3 separate regions of the Homo sapiens genome follow, and regions 1 and 3 are each linked to region 2. Evidence: promoter capture Hi-C in 16 types of primary human blood cells and fetal thymus (Javierre and others, 2016). All regions are on one chromosome and are shown on one strand. The core of a region is centred on a gene start or on the middle of the fragment in contact, and the rest is flanking DNA. Distances in the headings are between cores, read along the strand shown.

Evidence for each region. Contacts are between HindIII fragments. The CHiCAGO score rates a contact against its expected background, and 5 or more counts as called.
Region 1: a fragment that was not itself captured here is called in contact with the fragment with the promoter of KIAA2012-AS1 in region 2 in 4 of 17 cell types (megakaryocytes, erythroblasts, endothelial precursors and 1 more); the score reaches 7.6 in megakaryocytes.
Region 3: a fragment that was not itself captured here is called in contact with the fragment with the promoter of KIAA2012-AS1 in region 2 in 1 of 17 cell types (megakaryocytes); the score reaches 6.7 in megakaryocytes.

Annotation. Positions count from the first base shown.
Region 1 is chr2:201,835,234-201,838,615 of GRCh38, forward strand. It overlaps CDK15 (cyclin dependent kinase 15), which reads left to right. Exons shown (of 14, transcript NM_001366386.2): 8 at 410-530. Among named protein-coding and RNA genes, the nearest start is that of CDK15, 30 kb to the left of the region's middle. The HindIII fragment of the contact is 1,033 bases long and covers 1,594-2,626 here.
Region 2 is chr2:202,115,096-202,118,589 of GRCh38, forward strand. KIAA2012-AS1 (KIAA2012 antisense RNA 1) reads right to left here and starts at 1,963. Exons shown (of 4, transcript NR_135244.1): 1 at 1,792-1,963; 2 at 1-809. The region is part of intron 11 of KIAA2012; the gene reads left to right. The HindIII fragment of the contact is 4,910 bases long and covers 562-3,494 here.
Region 3 is chr2:201,817,908-201,821,403 of GRCh38, forward strand. The region is part of intron 4 of CDK15 (cyclin dependent kinase 15); the gene reads left to right. Among named protein-coding and RNA genes, the nearest start is that of CDK15, 13 kb to the left of the region's middle. The HindIII fragment of the contact is 4,348 bases long and covers 1-3,496 here.

The DNA.
Region 1 (3,382 bases), core at 860-3,359, 280 kb before region 2:
CTTCTGTCACGTGGCTCCTCCATCCCCAATTGTATGTTTCAAGATGGCTGCCACTTCCTGCTCATCACAGCCCAGAGGAGGGAGAAAAGGGAAGCAGAACCCTTAACCCCTCCACTAAGGCATAATCTGGAAGTTCACACATCACCTCTGTTCATATCATATAGGCAAGAACTTAGTCACCTGACCACACCCAGCTGCCAAGAAGGCCACATCTAGCTGCAAAGCAGGCCAAAATTTGAGAAATTCACTTGATGAAGTGATAGACAAGAGTCAAGATAGTGATTAGTTCTACTAAAAGCACCTAAAGTTTGTGTGTTATTTTTTCTAATGGTGTTTACCCTGGTCCAGTGCATCATGGTGCAAGCCAAGGTCCAGAACGATGGGTTTTATGCTTTTCCCTTTTGGACAGGTCTTGCCCGGGCCAAGTCCATTCCCAGCCAGACATACTCTTCAGAAGTCGTGACCCTCTGGTACCGGCCCCCTGATGCTTTGCTGGGAGCCACTGAATATTCCTCTGAGCTGGACATATGGTAAGAGTGGTGCCGAGAAAATGTGAGTCATCCTACTCACGAGGGTTGCTTTATCATCTACATTATATTTTAATAATAATTCTAAAAATGGCAATCACGTATATATTTTTATATATATTTATATTTATATATTTTATATATATTTATATAGTTATATATTTATATTTTATATATTTATATATTTATATATATTTGTATATATTTATATATTTATATATTTTTATATATTTATATATATTTATATTTTTATATTTTTATATATTTATATATATTTTATATATATTTATATATATATTATATATATTTATATTTATATATATTTATATATTTATATATATTTATATATTTATATATATTATATATTTTATATATTTATATATTATATATATTTTATATATTTATATATTTATATATTATATATATTTTTTTATATATATATATATGTATTTTTTTTTTTTGAGATGGAGTCTCACTCTATTGCCCAGGCTGGAGTGCAGTGGCACGATCTCAGCTCACTGCAACCTCCACCTCCCAGATTCAAGCAATTCTCCTGCCTCAGCCTTCTGAGTAGCTCTACTAAAAAAATACTAATATTTGTAGAAGATTCTTGCAATTATTCTATAACCTTTTACTGTTGAACTGAGACCCACAGAGTTCCTGCCCAAGGCATCTTCTGAATCTGACACTCTTTTTATGTTATTTTATTTTTTGAGATTGGGGTCTTGCTATATTGTCCAGGCTGGTCTTGAGCTCCCAGGCTGAAGCAGTTCTCCCACTTCAGCCTCTTGAGTAGCTGGGACTATAGGGCTGCACCACTGCACCCTGGCAATCTCATGCTCTTTCTTTCACGCCTTTCCTCCTAGCTCCTCTCTTTAATCCTTTGCCTTGTCTTCTCCTTGACACCTTATCCACAGAGAAACAAACATATATCCCCAAACCACAGACACACAGATGTGTGTGCACGTGCATGTGCATGCACACACATCTGCATGAACATACTCACACATGTCCAAACGTAGTTCAGAGCCTGGTTTAGGAAAAAAAAAAAAAAGCATAAAGACCAAGCTTCAAGACACCTGATTTTCATGCCAGTTCGATTTCTAATCAATTAACTCTGGATTCTGTTATCTTGAAAAAGTCATGTATCCTCTCTGTGTCTATGTTTCTCCATTTTTAAAAATGAAGGTAATAAACTCTCTCCATCTGAGTTAAATGGAATTGTAGTACAAATATAAGAACCAAATAGGTGGCTGGGCTTGCCGTCTCATGCCTGTAATCACAGCGCTTTGGGAGACCAAGGCTGGAGGATCGATTGCTTCAGCCCAGTTGTTTAAGATCAGCCTGGGTAGCACAGTGAGATGCTGTCTCTACATTTTTCAAAAAAATTAGTCAGGCATGATGGCTAATTAAACACTTCAGGAGGCTGAAGTAGGAGGATCTCCTGAGCCTGAGAAATTGAGGCTGCAGTGAGTTTTGATGGTACCCCTGCAATCCAGCCTGGGTTACAGAGCGAGACCCCGTCTGAAAGAAAGAAAGAAACAGAGAGAGAGAGAGAGAGAGAAAGAAAGGAAAAGAGAAGGAGAGGGAGAGGGGGAGAAAGGGAGAGGGGGAGAGAGGGGGAGAAGGGGAGAGGGGGGAGAGGTGGGGAGGGAGGGAGGGAGGGAGGAAGGGAAGGAAGGAAGGAAAGGAAGGAAGGAAGGAAGGAAGGAAGGAAGGAAGGAAGGAAGGAAGGAAGGAAGGAAGGAAGGAAAGAAGGAAAGAATCCAGATAGGTGCTATCAAGTAAAGCCACAGAGTTGGGGAGGCTCTAAGGTTAATGGGTTACAATAGTGAGCATGGGCTGTCAGACATGCATCATCCTAGAACGGCAGTGTTATTTTCTCTGGATCATGTTCCTGGAGACTTCCCAGTCATTTGGGGGCCACTGTTAGATATGTGATGACTTTACAGACGTAGACAACTCCCCAAAGGTAAGGAAATATATGAATCTCTTTCAGTACCTTGGAAGAAAGGGTTTATATAAAAACACAAAGCCCCATTTTCAAAAATCCATAATTGATTTTAAAAAATTAAATGGTGTCCTAAAAGGCTAAACTAAGCTTTTAGATCTCCCAAAGAATTAAGAAAGGTTGCAGACATTTTTCTCCAGTGTAGAGTCATTGATTTCTGATACCCAGTACAATTTATAGAAATATCATCTGCTAGTCAAAACCCTCCTGAAACTGTCAGCTCACACCGCTCAGCACTGTCACTTCAAAGGACTCCGGCAGGCTCTGGCTTACTCAGCTCTTAATGATGTCTTCCTGATTATGTTTCACAGAGTGAAACTTCTACCCGTCAATTTTAAACTAATTTTATTATGGAATAGTTAAAACATTCAAGAGTATATATAACATATATGTAGATCAGTGATTCTCAACCAGGGAGCAATTTTGCTCTGCAGGGGACATTTGGCAATGTCTGGAAACATTTTTTGTTTTCACAGCTGGGGGTGGGGTGGTGGGGGGTATCACTGGCATCTAGTGGGTAGAGACCAGGGATACTGCTAAACATCCTACAGTGCAGAGGACAGCCCCTGCAACAAAGATTTTTCCAACCCAAAACATCTGTAGTATCAAGATTAAGAAAGCCGATGTAGGTTAAGAAGCTTAATTTACTTTTAGAGACAGGGTCTCCCTTGGTTGCCCAGGCTGGAGTACAGAGGTGAGATTGTCTCACTGCAGCCTCCAACTCCTGGGTTTAAGTGATCCTCCTGCCTCAGCCTCCTGAGTAGCTGGGAATACAGGTGTGTGCCACCACACCTGGCTAATTAAAAAAAAAAAAGTGTAGAGACAGAGTCTCACTTTGTTGCCC
Region 2 (3,494 bases), core at 713-3,212:
TTTGTTTGTTTGTTTGTTTTGGTTTGGTTTGGTTTGGGAGACAGTATACTGAAAAAAATTTTTCCTCTCGCAAAATATTAGGTTGGAGCAAAAGTAATTGCGGTTTTGCCATTACTTTTAATTGCAAAAACCACAATTACTTTTGCACCAACCTATAATTGCTCCAACCACACCGAACTCTTTGCAGATCAGTTTGTTCAAAACCATCTTAATCACCGTCTCCACCCTCCCCTTCCAGCCTCATCTCCTACTATATTCCAGCCCACCCCTTGTTCATCTCTTTGATGACCTAAAAATTCAGTCTTCATTCTTTTCTCTCCAAACTTTTGCTCAAGTTTCCCCCAAATATTTAGAATAGCTTTAAGTTCATCTTTTCTGGAACATTTTCCTTAATAAATCCACCTCATTGCACACAGCTGCCTAGATGTAGCCTCAGCCCCATTCCTCTCTCTCTTTCTCAATCCCACTTTTGTGATTATTGTATGTATCTGCATCTGTTTTCTGTTTAGCTTCCAATATGAGTCCTAGAGAACATCTCATCTCCATCATATGTCCAGGAAAAGCTTGTTGATTGACTGAATACTCCAGGTGCCACAAAGGAAAGTTCTTTAGGGATCATAGTTGTTGCTGGGTTTTTTGTTTTTTGTTTTAATTAAAAAAAAAAAAAAACTCTTGAGTAAAGGAAGGAATACGATCCATCTGATCTTTCTGAGACTTCCAGGCTCTGTCAACAACTATTTGGAAATAAATTCTTAGGCAATTAGATCATGGTATCTTCTTTCAGACAGCATAGGGAAATGAATATAAACCTTCAGAAGGAAAAAAAAAAAGATGTGAAGACTAGAGCTGGAATTTGACCCTTTTGGTCATGTTGGGATATTGAACATTTAGAAAATTGAAAGTCTTGAGAAAGGAAAAGTTAACTTAGAAGGATACATGTCAAACCACTGGATATGCCCTCTGAATTGCTTATCCTTGATTCAAATCCTTCATCTACTCCCCTAGTCACAGTGCCAGCAATAGAAGTTTTCTCTCAGAAGTTCTTTTATTCAGAAGTTTGTTTTACAAAGAAGTTCAAGGATGTTTATGCCAATGATTCAGGTTGGGCATCAAGTCCCATGTAAATTTAAATTCCTGGTCTCTTTCAGAGTTTCTGTTTAGTATTTGTTCTTGTTCTAAATGGATTTTTACCCTCAAAATGTTTCTTGGGTGTTTTTTGTTTTTTTAGACAGGGTCTTGCTCTGTCGCACAGGCTAGAGTACAGTGGTGCAATCATGGCTCACTGAAGCCTCAAACTCCTGGGTTCAAGCTATCCTCCCACCTCAGCCTCCAAATAGCTGGGGCTACAGGCACGAGCCACCATGCCCGGCTTTTTTTTTTTTTTTTTTTTTTTTGAGATGGGGTCTCCCTGTGTTGCCCAGGCTGGTCTCAAACTCCTGGCCTCAAGCAATCCTCCCACCTAGGTCTCTCAAAACACTGGGATACAGGCATGAGCCACTGCACCCAGCCTTTCTTGTTTGTTTGTTGTTGTTATTTGTCATTTAATTAGCATCCTTCCCCCTTGCAACTCTTTCTTGGTGTGGTGGTTTTAAAATACATCCACAAATTCTTTGACACTTCCCCCTTCAAAAGGGAGAAACTAACTCTTCTCCCCTTGAGTGTGAGTGGGATATGATGGCTCACTTCTAAATAAAGATAGACTATGGCAGAATTGATGGTATGTGACTTCTGAGACTGGGGTCATAAAAGGCACCAAGGCTTCCTCCTTGCTCTCTCTCTCGGATTACTCACTCTGGGGAAAGCCAACCACCATGTCTGTGATGAGGCCACTCAAGCAGCCTATGGCAAGCAGTCCACATGGCAAGGAACAGAAGCCCCTTGCCAACAGCCAGAATGAACTTCCTAGGCTTGTGTGGGAGTTGCCTTGAGAGGAGGTTCTCCAGCCCCAGTCAAGTCTTCAGATGACTGCATCCCTGGCTGACACTCTGTCTGTGACCTCACAAAAGGCTGCACCAGAACCACACACCTAAGCCACTCCAAGATTCCCACAGAAACTGAGGCATAACAAAGGTTTATTGTTTTAGGTTTCAGGATCATTTATTTTGCAGTAATAGATAACTAGTATTCTAGATAACTAGTATTCTTGGTGTCATTTTGTGATGGTCTGTGATTTGGTTGACAGAAAGATGAGTCTAAGAATATCCCAGCTGGTCTGAAAACACTGATCATTTAGGGGTAAACATAGGCTAAGTGACTGTTCTCCCATTTTTCCTTTGTGATAAGTTGGTTGTGGGACCCCACGGGTAAAAGAATCCTTCCATGTTGGTGGGGTACTGTTTAAAGTATGATTTTCCTTAAGTAGCCCATCTCTTAGTAGCTGTTACCTTACTGATGATGCCGAGAGATGTAAGGGAGGACAATTAATTTTGATAAGGCCATGTGAGGAAGAAGAAAAAACTCTGGTTTTATTCCCACCTGTACTGCCCAGGATTTCTGTGATCACAGGCAAATAACTTCATTGCCTTGGACCTCAGCTTCCTCATATGGAAAAAGAGGAGTTGGTATTAGATCCAGTCCTCACAGCACATGTCCCGTCGAACTCCAATTCCTCAGAAGGTTAACAGGCATTGTGTAAAAAAGGAAAGGTTCTAGGGCCAGATACATTTGGAAACCAGTGGACCAAAGTTAAGCAGATCCCTTACCGCAGGACTTCCTAGAGCCTCCGATATGCTGATGTGCACCGTGGTTCTTCAGGATGGGGATATGCACTGTTTCCCAAACTTATTTGATCACTGAATCCCTTTGTTTTTGGTAAAGCATCATGTGGATCTAAAAAGTTTTTGGCAAACTTTGGAAAATGCTAAACTGATGATTTCTAAGGTTCTCCTAACATGGCATGTTTCTAAATATGCCCCTTTCCCCAAGGAGATTCTCTCGGTGGAGCAGTTCTTGTGTCTAAATCCTGAAACAGGATTTCAGCCATTAATCATTTGTGACTATTATTATTTTTATTCTCTAAACATCAGTTCTGAATCATAGAGTCCACAATCCATCCATCTCTGGATAGGAAGAAATACAGGAAGATAGGAGCCCCACGTGGTTATAGTGTACACTGCCCCTTGTGCCTTTTCAGTGTTTTTCATAACCCTCATGAGAAATAATGTTGGCAGGTGTTACCAGTACTAGTGATCTCTGGTCAAATGTTTGAGTAAAGGAAAATGTGGCTGGATATGGTCTCTGGGCACCCAGCATTTCCTTCCAGTGGGTGTTCCTGTACTACAGAGGCTAGAAGGCTAAAAACTACATTTCCCAGATAATCTTTGCAGCTAGGGAGCTGGATGCAAATTATTTTCTGCCAATTAGATGTGCTTGCATGAGATTTGGAGAGCAGAAGTGAGGCAGAAGCATCAAAGCTCTGGGCACTGAGCTCATGAAGACTGAGCATGATAAGAGGCAGTTACTGTATAGTAACTCTGTTTCTTCTTAAAAATATT
Region 3 (3,496 bases), core at 292-2,791, 300 kb before region 2:
AACATTTATCTAAAATTATTTCAATTATTTCTTTTCTCGGAATGCATAACTTGACTCATTGACTTGATTTATGATTCTCAGATCAAAGGAAATGTAACAACAGGGTCTAGAAACACTTTTTTATTCAATGTCCAATGAGGGTTGGGGAGGACTCCATCATTGACTCATTATATAATTCCTCATAAACTCATTACAATTGGCCTGGCTTTCATTAATTCATGAGCACTTATTGAGCACCACATGCCAGGCCTGTGCTAGTGCTGGAGATGCAAAGACAAGGGCAAGTTCAATCCATGCCCTCAATGAGTTTACAGCCTAAAGACGACTTTGACTACCAGGCCTTCATTACATAGAGCGACATCCTAGGACTTGGAGAATCAGCTTTCCTCTGGAGCCTTAAAGACATCCCTATTTACTTTTGTGTCTTTTCTTTGAAGAAAAACAAAAATAAGTATACATAGGATACATTAATAATAAAAAAACAGTATTTTATGAGACTCAGAATGCTAATTTTAGGATCTTTGCCCTTCTCAGTTGACTTTTGTGTCCCTCAACTGTTTAGTCTGCAGGACAGATATCACATCCTGCTGTGCAGTTTATAAAATGTCCTTAAAATTAGAAGAAAGAAAGACCTTGTCTTCCTGGGTTTAAGACCCACACATCTGAGGCTGTAGGCATTTCAGATCCCTCTGGTGGATGGACCAAAATGATAAACAATACTGTGAGATAAATGCTTTAAACATCATCTGCTCTTTCATCTGAATTCCCTATTCATTATTCGGCAACATTCACAGTTTTCATATAACGATTTCAGTAGTTCTAGGGCACCAGAAAAGCAGTACTAGGAATGGCCATAAAGCATAGAATATTTATAATCTAATGAGGGAGACAACTAAAAGAAAGAAGGAATAAAAGCATCTTCAACAGAAACACCCTTTACCAACCAACTAGAGGTATAGAAATGATATTAGGTAATTAGTGACCACTAATTTAAAGATAAATATTTATTGAGTGCCAGACATTGTTCCAGGCACTGAGTATATAGCAATAAGCAAAAAAAACAAAACAAAACAAAACAAAAGTGCCCACTCTCAATGGAGTTTATATTCTCAATTGTGGAGACAGACAATAAACAAATATTTATATATAAAATGTCAGATGGTGGTGACAGGCACTATGGAAAAGAATAAAGCAGGGCCCAGAGAGAGAGGGTAGGATGGGGTAGAGGTGGGATGGGGTGGAGGGCTGCTGAGGTGGGATGGAGTAGAGGGCTGCTATCTCACCTAGAATGGTCAAGGAAGTCTGCACCTATATGTATCACTTGAGCGGAGGCTCTGAAGAAAGTGAGGGAGGATGAAGGCAGAGAGGTGAGAAGAGAGGATTACAGGAAAAGACATTGGCAAGTGTAAAATCCTGGGGTGGAAATGTGTTTGCAAGTGTGTCTAAGGAACAGCTAGGAGGCCAGTGAGGCTAAAGCCAAGTGAGCAAAGATGGGAGTGTGAGGAGATGACAGGTCACGATGGGCACAGCCAACAGTAGGGTGGGCAGGAAATCGCAAGTCCTTTGAATTTACTCTGCAGGAGATGAGAGGCCACTGGAGGGTTTGGAACCAGGAGGCACATGCCCTAACTCATTTGAGAAGGATAGCAGTGTCTGGCTGTCCTGTGAAGAAGTGGCCATAGGAGGAAAGCAGGGAAGCAGGCATTTGCAATAATTCAGCCAACATATGATAGTGGCTTGGTCCAGGGTGCTGGCAGAAGATATGGCAAGGGAGGGGTTCTGGACAATTTGGAAGGTAATGCCAATAGATTTGTATGTGATAAAAAGTTGAGAGGACTTGACGTGTACGAGTGGTTAATCTTCATAAAATGGATGAATGGTTAAAAAGATTTCCGCAAAGAAACTGTGGGTTGAAGGTAAAACTAGTAACTCCAATGTAAGTGAACAACAGAGAAATACAAAACAGACATTTTTCCTACTCCTACAAAAACTGTAATTATCAAGAAGATGACATGAAGTTTATACCCAGTATTGTTAGCAGGAAGCCTCATTCCAAGTAGATATTTTTCCTTGGCCATTTTAGCAAGTGAGAGCATGAGGCCATCATAATGAACAAATCATGCCATCATGATTTAAAAAGAAGCATCTGGAGTTTTAGTAATATAGTTAGGTGAGACTAAAATTATACTAAACATAAAATTAAAATATCTTAACAATATTCTTAGCAATTTCAGCTTTACCATATCCTTTTGAAATCTAATTTTGCTATATGCTTTGTAACATAGGGGTGGGGGAAAGAGAGAAATTTATGAGATAATTTATAAATAAAAATACACCTAAAGTATAAGCATTCTCAACTGATGGTCAGAAAATATGGAAGGTATTCAAAACTCTAGCAGAAACATACCATAAACAAGATTTTAAGACTGAAAGTAGACGTTTAGTGGGGTTCAGGGTGAAAGGCAGGGGCAAGAAGCTGGCAAGAAGAGGGAAGGGATACTAATTCTAATTTGCCTCTGTAATGCTTTACATTTACCAAGGTTCCACAAATGGTATCTGATTCCATCCTCATATCAACCCTATGAAGTAAGTCAGAAAAGACGATGTCTCTTTTCCTAAGGAATGAATTGAGACTTAGGTTGAGATACTCTCCAGAGCTTACTCAGATAGGAAGTGACAGGGCCAGGATTCATATTAGGGCTTCTGGCTCCACAGACAGTTCTCCTTAAGACTTTCAATAAATATGTTTGACAAATTAAGTGCTTACTCTCGGCTGAGTGTGGTACTAGGTGGTGTGGCAGCATCTCAAAAAGGGGGAAAGTCACTCCCTCAATTCCCATGTGGCCTTCAGTCTGAGACTAGGGAGATTAAACAGATGCCTGAGAAGCTGTTTATTACATTTACAAAGCAACACATTTGTCAAAGTGAAATAATAAATTTAGCCCATAAGGACTCTGGGGGCAAAAAGTAAAAATTAAGGCATTAGTCATTACAGCAAATAAGGTTAACAGGTGTGATGGAGCTCCTTCGGCGTAAGTCAGCTTAAATTGACAAGTAAAGAGAGAAATTCACTGGCTCACAGATCTGATAACTACAGGCTGGTAGGGCATAAGCAATATCATCAGGAAGCCGTGTCTCTCATTACCCAACACTGGTTTGCTGTGCATTCATTTTATTCCCAGGCATGTTGTCACCAGGTGTTGGTAATCTGACCCCAGCAACTCCTGGCTAAATCCCACAGGTTTAGCTCTCACAATAGAAAAGAAAGCACTTCTTTTCTAATGGCACCAGCAAAACAGGGCTCTGCCAAACTTGGGTTTTGTGCCTGTCTCTGAACCAATCACTAGGGATAGGGGAGTGCCGTGCTCTGATTGGCCAGCCCTGGGTCATATGCCCATTCTTGGGTAGAGGCCGGGTCAGTTCCACCAGATGAGCATGGTCTGAGGAAGAAGACGGTTGTTTTTCCAGGGGAAAATAGAAGTGCCCCCGCTAGAAG